Linked DNA regions of Homo sapiens: region 2 is linked to region 1. The links are contacts of gene promoters, found by promoter capture Hi-C in blood cells and fetal thymus (Javierre and others, 2016). All regions are on one chromosome and are shown on one strand. The core of a region is centred on a gene start or on the middle of the fragment in contact, and the rest is flanking DNA. Distances in the headings are between cores, read along the strand shown.

Evidence for each region. Contacts are between HindIII fragments. The CHiCAGO score rates a contact against its expected background, and 5 or more counts as called.
Region 2: a contact is called between a fragment that was not itself captured here and the fragment with the promoter of MRPL46 in region 1, in 5 of 17 cell types (naive CD4 T cells, naive B cells, total B cells and 2 more). The highest score is 7.0, in naive CD4 T cells.

What each region holds. Positions count from the first base shown.
Region 1 is chr15:88,464,311-88,469,575 of GRCh38, forward strand. It overlaps MRPL46 (mitochondrial ribosomal protein L46), which reads right to left and starts at 3,078. Exons shown (of 4, transcript NM_022163.4): 1 at 2,840-3,078; 2 at 1,277-1,463; 3 at 393-566. The coding sequence starts at 3,067. It overlaps MRPS11 (mitochondrial ribosomal protein S11), which reads left to right and starts at 3,398. Exons shown (of 6, transcript NM_022839.5): 1 at 3,398-3,472; 2 at 3,598-3,714. The coding sequence starts at 3,408. RefSeq lists enhancers at 1,413-2,612, 3,079-3,248. The HindIII fragment of the contact is 6,788 bases long and covers 779-5,265 here.
Region 2 is chr15:89,054,918-89,060,182 of GRCh38, forward strand. The region is part of intron 1 of CARMAL (coronary artery disease region linked MFGE8 regulatory lncRNA); the gene reads left to right. It also overlaps a transcript of ABHD2 not described here. Among named protein-coding and RNA genes, the nearest start is that of CARMAL, 17 kb to the left of the region's middle. RefSeq lists an enhancer at 4,418-4,918. The HindIII fragment of the contact is 778 bases long and covers 2,599-3,376 here.

The DNA.
Region 1 (5,265 bases), core at 1,828-4,327:
AGGGACTCAAGGACTTATGGATGTGGGAATGAGGTCAAGGACAATTCTGAGGTTTCAAGTTGAGTGAACAGATAAGCAGTGATGGCAATAAGCAGTGCTGCAAAGATAAGAAGACAAGCAGGCTGAGAAAATGGTAGAAATATCAATTTTGAATGTACTAAATTTTAAAATCTCAGTGGAACAAAGGATTCTCACCTGGTCTAAAAATAAAAATAAAAAAAAAATAAAAAAAATCCTTACCTGGGTTTTTCTGGCTGAAATTTTTATAAACTTCAAAATTTCCATTAACCTTCCCACCCCCACCCTTAATCCAATTCCCCAGTCAGCCTAAAAATCCTCTGGCTGAGTCTGAAGTGAATTTTGTGGAATTTAGAGGAAGGCAGAAAACCCACCTGAGAGTGTGGCCAGGGTTCGTTCAGCTGTTCCTCGAAGGGTCTCCCCAGGCTGCCACTCTGCCTGGGGCAGTATCCAAACATCCTGGTCTCCAAACTTCTCTCTGACTAACAGGACAAGGTTCCTGTCTAGCTTCCTGTTCAGGGATGTTCGGTCATTCTTTTCATCAGCTTCTACAGCAAAGGGGGTCAGAGGAGGTAAGAAGACTGTGATCTGCCAGAACCAAGAAACCTGGAGTTTTACAATCTTCCTTTAAGATCCACAATCCTTGCCCTCAAAGAGCTTAGAACCAAATTACACCTCGACCCATCTCTCTAACTCTGACCTCTTCCAGGGAAGAGTCTCACAATCTTGAGGAAACTAAAAGGTAAGAAATCAAGAGGTAAGCTTCTTTGAACAGCAAACCATATTTTGAGTCTTCAAAAAAGAAACAATGATCATACTAATTCAAACACAACTACTTCATTGGTTTTGATACTATTACTGACTTAACTAGCCCCTACTTTCTCTGTTCTTCAGTCTTCATCTGTGAAACAAGGAAAACAGAACTCAATCTCCCGCTTTAAGAGGGATTTCACATAAAACACAGGAATTAGTGGAAAAAGGCTTCATTTGCCCCACTCTCAGTCTCAAACTTGGAGTTAAACACAGATAACATTCACAAAGTTTAACTGAGAGAAAAGGCTATTCCAATACCCTTACCTCTCACCCGAAAATAAGACAGACTTTTTAAGTCGTATTATGGTAGATGTGAGCAACAAAGAAAAGAATATGAAATTATTTGTTACTTAAAACACAAAGCAGGGGCCAAGCAACTGTCTTTTATTTGGGAATCCAAATACCCCTTTTCCCTTCCTTCTGGCTGGCCTAAAAGGATCACAACCTGTTATGCGAGCTCCAAGTTTGAACTGTAGAAATTTCTGCTCCCACATATCTTCCAAATCTTGCGCCAGCAATATATCCTGTTCATCTTCTTCATCATGAAGGTCAGCTTTCTTCTTTGCCAGTCGCTGGTTTTCATCCAGAGCACGAAGCTCGTGGTCTGAATACAGGCTTCTCTCTATCTCAATCTGGGAAAATTCAAAGGGCAAAAAACTACCTTAATCTGGCAAAATTAAAAGGAAAAAAAAAACAGGAAGAATAAAACAGAGACATGGCACACTTGGCAAGCTCAGAAGTTTATCACCCAACATAACCAGATACACAGTCAAAACACCATGCAGAAAGGAAATGGAGGGAAAAAAAGGTCCTCTGAACTTTGGGCTTGAGTTACATTTGCCAAAAATGTTACAATGTCACTGGGGGTCAAGAGTGCTACAAAAACAGAGAGCTGGGTTGGGCAATGCCTGCTGACTCACCACAATCCAGTCATGTCAGTCTTTGATCAGAATCTCACTCACCAAGGACTTTCCTGTTCAGGGACTTTCAAGAGGTTGTTCCTTCTTCCTAGAATGTTTTTCCTCACATTCTTTCTTCTGGGAGAGTCCTACTCATCTTTCTGATTTCAATTTAAATATGACTGTCTCAGAGAGACATTTCTCATAAAGAGAAAAACCTGTATTCAGAAAGTCTGAGGCATTCCTTGACACTCACCATAAAATCAAAATGTGATGTATTTGTTAAACACTCTTATAGTGCCTTGTGTTTTCCTTAACAACACTTATCAGGGTCTGCATTTAGTTGTATGATTATTTGGTTACTGACTGATCCCCTCACTCAACTAGACTGAAGTACTCTGAGAACCAGAGCTACTTCTGCCTTATTCATTACAGCATCTCTATCACTTAACATACTCTCTGATGCATAGTATGGGCACAATGAACATCTGTAGGTTGAGTAACAAATATTTGTCAAGCGAGCGAGTAAATGAATAAATCAAGCAAAAAGCACAGAAGAGAAGTTTATAGTTCTCAACAGACCAAGACAAAAACATCTCGGATTCTGAGGAAACATATCACCCTTCAAACACTTTCTGTAGCGACCTCACACCTTCACAGCCACTACACTGTTTTTGCCCATGCTTCCTCACTTGCCCCTCACACAGATAGCCCCATGAGATAAAACAGAGTAGGCTTATCATAGGCATCTGACAGATGTGCCCACCGCCTCTTGTATTTCCTTCTTAACATTCATCACATCACAAAGACTTTCTCCCTCCAGACTTGTAAGCTCCTAGTGACACGGACCGATTCTTGTTCACCACAGGATCCCTATTGTGTTGCATGAACAAGAAGTAGAGTATCTCCAAAGAGTTGTCTAAGGTGACAATAAACACGGCCAATGAAAAGAAACCACTTTTTGTTGAACATCTATGTACCAAACCAAGTCAGTAAGGTAGGTACCATTCTGCGGATAAGTACCGTATACTTAAGTTCAGAGAGGTGAAATTACTCGCTCAAAGTCACGCAGAATAAACGTCACTCTGAACCCTGCATCTCAGTCCCACCTGCTGCAGTAGAGACGCCATCTCTTCCTGCAATGGGGTCAACGGCTTGGAGACTACAGGTGGCCGCTGCAGGCACAACGCGCCCAACAAGCGCCATGGGGATCCGTTGCTTGAGGGTGCGGCTGCAAGAGCCAGGCTGCGAGAGCTTAGACTGCCGGCCCAGAGCCTCTCGAACCGCCGCCAACCCCCCGCCACCCCTAACAGCGTCCGCCTTACGGGCGCCGCCATCTTTCGTTCTCCCACAATGCACCGCGGCTCCCAGGGATCCCTCAGCCGCGGGAGCGGCAAACTAGGGGAAAGCTCAGTCCCGGAACTGCTAGAACGAACCATTCGCATATGGAGGGGGTGACCCACCATCTCAGAACATTAAAAAAGGGAAAGAATCCCCTGGTGAACTACAGTGAAAGTCTTATTGAGCATTTAAATGGAAATAAAAATATTCAGTGGACCTAATGAAGAGTAGATGACTTTCCCTTCTGTCCCCTCCCCGACAGGCACTCATGGTACCGGCGCCGGCGCAGCTGTGACTGTCGCTGCAGACGGAAACTGACTGGGGTCAATTCAAGTCATGCAGGCTGTGAGAAACGCGGGGTCGCGGTTCCTGCGGTCCTGGACTTGGCCCCAGACAGCCGGGTAACAAATGACTGCCCCCTCGAGCCCACCGCCACCTCCAGGACTATGCTCCTACTCGTGTCCCTTGAGCCACCCGGGCCCCAGTGACCGTTAGGCCGTGGCCCTCACCGAGCTTTTCTTCCCAGCAGGGTCGTGGCCAGAACGCCGGCCGGGACCATCTGCACAGGCGCTCGACAGCTCCAAGACGCTGCGGCCAAGCAGAAAGTTGAACAGAACGCGGCTCCCAGCCACACCAAGTTCAGGTGAGCCCCACTTGGACCAGCCCTCTGGAGACCCGCAACCCCTGACTCTTGCCCGACACCCTCCAGAGTCAGAACCAGTGAATTTTCAGCTATGTCACTTGCTATCCGTGGGACCTTATGCAAATAAATCTGAGCCTCAGCCTTCTCATCTAAAAATGCGGATAATGCTGAGAGAGGTTGTGAGAATCAGATGAGCCGTGGTACAGAGTAAATGTTCAGTGAACATTCGTTAAATCAATGAGTGAATGTGAGATATCCATAACATGTATCAGCGTTCTTTTCTTCTGAGATGGAGATCTTTTCAGACCAATAACCTTCCCTGCCTCCAAAACAAAATGGGGAGGTAGAGGGCGCTAGCGATGGAACAGATGTTCCTGCACGTCTTACGGATGGTCCAGGGTGGGTTTTGTGCTCAGCCCTAGGAACTGGCATCTTGCTTCCCACCAGTGCCACCACCTCTGTATGCTGTATACACATCCACTTAACTTCACATCCATTTAACAAACATTTACCAAGAATCTACTATGAGTGAGACACCATGCTAGGTGCCGTGAATACAGATACAAAAGATCATTCCTCCCCACAAGTAGTTCACAGTCTTTGAGGGAAGACAAACATGCAAACATTTTAACCATAATCTGCTCAATAATATAATGGAGGTAAGCATTGGTTGGAAGTATGAAATCATAAGTGTCTAACTCCTGGCCGGGTGCAGTAGCTCATGCCTTTAATCCCAGCACTTTAGGCGGCCAAGGTGGGCGAATTACTTGAGGTCAGGAGATCGAGACCAGCCTGGCCAACATGGCGAAACCCCGTCTCCACTAAAAGCACAAAAACTAGCCAGGCGTGATGTCTGGCACCTGTAATCCCAGCCACTCAGGAGGCTGAAGTAGAAGAATCGCATGAACCCAGGGAGCGGAGGTTGCAGTGAGCCAAGATCACGCCACTGTACTCCAGCCTGGGTGACAGATTGAGACTCTGTCTCAAAGAAAAAAAAAAAAAAAAAGAATAAGTGTCTCATTCCTGAGGAAATCAGGCAAGACCATGGAGAAAAGAACATGGAGCTCAGAAGTGAATGGGAGTTCATCTGGACAAGTTGAAGTGGGTCATTGGAGACAAAGGTAACCATCTGTGTAAAGGCATGTGGTATGAAAAAACATGGTGTGTTCAGGTGTGTATGTGATGGCAGATGAGGCCAACAAGACAAGAAGGCATCAGAATGCCAGGGGTCTTGTCTGTCACACTGGAGCTTTTACGCTGTCCCCACTGAAGGCAGTGAGGAGCTGCTGAAAGCATCTAAACCAAGATTCTGTTGTAGTCATTTCTTCAACAATGCCAGGCACTGTTCAGAGTGTTGGGGATATATCCCTGACCAAACAGACAAAAAGCCCTGCCCTCATAGAACTTAAATTCCAGTGGGTAGAAGACAGTAAATAGAAAACAAGTAAAATGTAGGAGTATAACGGTTGGAAAGGGGAAGTGGGGGTCAAGCAGGCCTGCATAGCCACATTCTGTAGGACTTTGTAGGCCGTTGTGAGGACTTCAGCTTTT
Region 2 (5,265 bases), core at 1,738-4,237, 590 kb after region 1:
AATGTGCTTAATCAATCTTCTATTGTTGCCAGGCAAGGTGGCTCACGACTGTAATCCTAGTAACTCGGGAGGCTGAGGTTGGAGGATCACTTGAGGCCCGGAGTCCAAGACCAGCCTCGGCAACCTAGCAAGACCCCATCTCTATGGCGCACACTTGCAGTTCCAGCTATTCTAGAGGCTGAGGCAAGGAGGATCACTTGAGCCCAGGAGTTCAAGACTGCAGTGAGCCATGATTGCGCCACTGTACTTCAACCTGAGTGATGAATTGAAACCCAGTCCAAAAAACTTTTTTTTTAAATCTCCTATTGTTGGTAATTTAGTTTGTGTCCAGTTTTAAAGTGTCTATCTTTTGATTTAACTATCCTACTTTTAGGACTATCTCCCACAAAAGTAAAACACTAGTTTCTTTTTTTTTTTTTTTTTTTTGAGACAAGGTTTCATTTCTGTTGCTCAGGCTGGAGTGCAGTGGCACGATCTCATCTCACTGCAACCTCTGCCTCCTGGACTCAAGCGATCCTCTCTCTCCTGCCTCAGCCTCTTGAGTAGCTGGGACTATAGGCGAATGCCATCATGCTCAGCTAATTTTAAGTATTTTTTTGTAGAGATGAGATTTCACCATGTTGCCCAAGCTGGTCTTGAACTCTGGACCACAAGCGATCCGCTGGCCTCGGCCTCCCAAAGTGCTGGGATTACAGCCTACTAGTTTATAATATTTACAGAGATGTTTATCACAATATTATTGATAATAGCAAAAATCACTAGAAACACCCTGGATGTCTACCAATATGGGGGCGGTTGAATAATCCATAGCATATTCTATACTATGAAATATTGAACTGCTATTAAGAGTGAGATGAAGTGAGATGAATCAATATTACTTGTCAAAATGATCATGATATGTGGCTAAGGGAAAATGTAGTTTACAAACTAATTGTGTAATGTGATTTTTGCTTTTTTGTTTTTACAGACTGGGTCTCACTCTGTCATCCAGGCTGGAGTGCAGTGGCGTGATCACGGCTCACTGCAGTCTTGACCTCCCGGGCTCACACAATCCTCCTGCCTCAGCCTCCTGAGTAGCTGGAGTCACCATGCCCAGCTAATTTTTAAAAATATTTTGTAGAGACAGAGTCTGCCTATGTTGCACAGGCTGGTCTCAAACTCCTGGCCTCAAGCAATCCTCTGACCACAGACTCCCAAAGTGCTGGGATTACAGATGTGAGCTGCCACGCCTAGCCTGATTTTTGCTTTTAATTAAAATTTTGTAAATGGAGGTGGGAATCCCTCTACGAATTTTTAATTTGTAACTATTCGTATCTTCCTAGGGAAAATAATAGGAAAAAAACTCACAAAACTGTTAATATTGCTCACCTCAGGAGATGGCATTGGAGATATTTGCTTAGTTACAAGAATATGTATGGATTTTGCAACTTGAATGACACAGTAAGAAAGAACACCATGCCCCAGTGCAGGATTGTGGCAGGAATTTGAATCTTTAATTCCTTCAGGCACCGGGCACAGATCGAGACCATCCTGGCTAACACGGTGAAACCCCGTCTCTACTAAAAATACAAAAAAATTAGCCAGGCATGGTGGCAGGTGCCTGTGGTCCCAGCTACTCAGGAGGCTGAGGCAGGAGAATGACGTGAACCCGGGAGGTGGAATTTGCAGTGAGCCGAGTTCGCACCACTGCACTCCAGCCTGGGCGACAGAGCAAGACTCCATCTCAAAAAAATAAAATAAAAAAATAAAATTCCTTCAGGGTGCTTGCAAAAGATAGAACAGTGCAATGAAAAAAATCAGACCCAGCAGCACTACTTATTACAACATGACCTTGAGTGAGTCATTCACCTCACTGGGCCTCAGTTTTCTTGTCTGTAAAATGGGACAATAGCAATCTCTACCTGTCAGAGTTTGTGTGCAGGCAGTCAGGAAATATAGTCAGTAGGCATTAAATTTTTTTCACACTGTTAATCCAGTTTATAAGTGATACCTTTTTTTTTTTTTTTTTTTTTTGAGATGGAGTTTTGCGCTTGTTGCCCAAGCTGGAGTGCAATGGCGCCATCTCGGCTCACTGCAATCTCCGCCTCCCGGGTTCAAGCGATTCTCCTGCCTCAGCCTCCTGAGTAGCTGGGATTACAGGCACACGCCACCACGCCCGGCTAATTTTTTGTATTTTTAGTAGAAATGGGGTTTCACCGTGTTAGCAGGCTGGTCTTGAACTCCTGACCTCAGGTGATCCGCCTGCGTCAGCCTCCCAAAGTGCTGGGATTACAAGCATGAGCCACTGCGCTAGGCCAGCGTGATACCATTTTTAAAAGTGTTAAGTGAAAAGGGTAAAGGATCTATTGAAGCCCCTTTGTAAGCATGTGAGTTCTGCTTGAGAAGCCACCCCCGGGTTAGCTCTTCTAAGCTGCTCATAGCTAATTCCCTTCCTTCATCTCCACTTCCCTTTGGGGTTTGGCGCAGTGATGATGGGGTTTCTGAAGATGAGGTAGGGCAGGGGTTACACAGTGACCACTGGGAAGTTGGGGACTGGCCGCCTCTGGAACTCCAAGGATTGATTTTCATGGTTAGCAAACAGCTGAGAGTTCTTTGGGAAGCTTCAATGGTGAAAATGCTATTTTTGGTAAGAGGGTAAGAATACAGCCCCTTCTTGTTTAGCCATGGTCGTGGAATCACGGTGGGGGCGTGCCTGGTGCATGGGCTCCTGAGAGGCAGGCCCCGTTGGGCTCACCCCCATTCCTGCTGCCATTCCCTCCATGGCCTCAGGGTGGCGCTGCTCCCTCTCCAACTGGGGCCATCTATTGCCACCATGCGGCTTCCCAGTGAAACCCGCTATTAATAAGAAGGAATGAAAAAAAAAAAAGAAAGAAACAAACCTGCCAGAACTTTCCAATCACACTGTCCTAAAAGCTGAGGACTAAGAAAACGAAGATAGATTCAGGGGACACCGTGAGTCAAAACTTTAGTTTGCCAGGTCTGACTTCTTTCCTGCAGCTCTTCGCCCTCTACCCAGTCCATCAGGGACCCCAGGACTAGGACTCCCTAGCTCCCCACTTACAAATTAAGCCCACCAACATTTGTGGGGCGCCAGGCAAGAGAACGAATGGAAGCTCACATACTCTATGTCTGCATATTTTCAAGTTGTTCAGTCAAGCTGATAAACCCTTAAATGAAGTATGCTCCATCCTTCCGCCTTGAGGTAGATACCTTCATAACCACCTAAAAGACCAGGTTGACTTTTAGGATTTTCAGCCTCCTTGGAGATCCATTCCCCTGGCTCTCCACTTCTGGCCCCAGGTCCACCCACCCACGCTCATCCTTTCAGATCGTGAGGAGCCTCACATACGTGTGGATACTCCAGCTCACACATCCAAGCTTCCTCCACACCCACACCCCTTACAACCCTGAAAACAGCTACCCCTTGGCCACTCCTAGTACCTAGCATGTGAACACAGGTAGTGAGGTCCACTCTTGGGAAGAGAGACCTAGAGAAAATGAAGATGCCCCGCAGGCACAGAAGAGGGCTTGCTGTAATTTGGACAGAAACTCTGGGGTCCTGGTACACGGAGCCTAGTCTTGGGTGGGTGTATGGACTCCCTTTGTAGAAAGGAACATGGCCCGAGGAGGTGCACAGCAGGAGCTTCTCCTGCTCTGGGCCCAGGGGATGGGGACAAGGAGAGATGACATCCTTAACTCCCTCCATCCCTCAGGAGTGCCCCTGGACATCGAGACTCCTGGAAATCTGGGTTGTGACAGGCCAAGTCCCTTCTTAATTCCTCTTTCCTGCTGTGGAGCCCCCTCATGTCCAATGATTGGCAGCAGGAAAGACCTCACTCTTCAGACAAGACCATAGTATCTGCCCTTGAAGCCTTTCTCTTTCAGCCCTCAACAATATCTCAATAAAAACAGCAATCCAACGTTGGACAGAAGCCTGCAGTAATGGGTGGTGGCGCAGAAGCCATCCTTTCAAGGGCACAGAGTGCCATTTCTCTCTCAAGGGATGGATAATTCCTGCCTTAATGCAACCTTCATCTGCCTAGTCACCAGCTGATGGGAAAGCAGCTCCAGCGAAAGATAAGGGCTCTTTGCCTGAAATGAAAAATTCATGAAGGAAGACTAGGAATGGGGCACGCAGAGAGCTGCCAAGTTGCTGTGCTCTGAGGACCTGACAAGAAGCTCAAAAAGCCAAATGGAAATTTTCTCTCCTCTCCAGCATCTCCCATCATGCCCTCTTCCATGTTTGGGGCTCTCTTCTCTGCTGTACCTGGTCACAGCTCTGCAGTCTCACCAATGCCCATATGCCAGGGGATCCAGGAAGAGGGGTACATCTGCCCACCCAGGCGAGCCACTTGACACCCACTCACATCCTCACAAAATGTTCGCTGTGGCTAGACAAGCTGGCATGGTTCTGACCACCTACCTGCCTAGACCAGACCTGGAGGAAATCCAAACTGGCTATTTATTTGTCCCTGGGAGACGCCTACAGATTACTTCCTGTTCCAATTTTCTGACCCACAGATCTGATCAAAATTCGTTAGGTTGATCATTGGTCACAACTCATAACTTGGGAAGGCAGCCCTGAATTTCTTGTCACAATGTTGGGCAGACAGTGGTATGGATGAAATGAAAGGGGAAAAAAACCTCTTGAACCATGAATTGGAGAATTTAACTCTCTCATAGGGATGGGCTTGAGAAGTACGACCGGCTACCCCATAATATACAGAATGGCACAGCAGTCGCAGGTGCCATTCCAGAGATGGTGGGTTCGAGGGCAGTAATTGATCCCCAGAAATTAGGTAGGAGGGCAGGCTGCCATCGCAGAGGAATCTGCCACCAAGGAAGTCCACCAGACTCTACTGTCAATGGGAAATGGGAAACTTGAGTCTCCTATTGCAGAGCCGCAGTTCCTTCTTCCTGCTGCAGGGTCCGTGGCCGAAGGAAAACCTCATTCCACTGTCCCCTGCCCAGGCCAGCTGTGGAACGCAGGTCCTCCATGAACTTGGGGGCCCCTCTTGGTCTCCCAGTGCATTGGCTCTTGGTTCCCAGGTCTTCCAGGCATTTATGCAGCCTTTTCCATTCAAAGCGGGAACTGGATTCAGACAGCAGTGTCTCATTGAAAAGCTTGTCCCTTCAACACCAGCCCCTAAGAACCACTCCAAGGCCTTTTTTTTTTTTTTTTTTTTTTTTGAGACAGAGTTTCGCTCTTGTTGCCCAGGCTGGAGTGCAATGGCGCGATCTCAGCTCACTGCAACGTCCATCTCC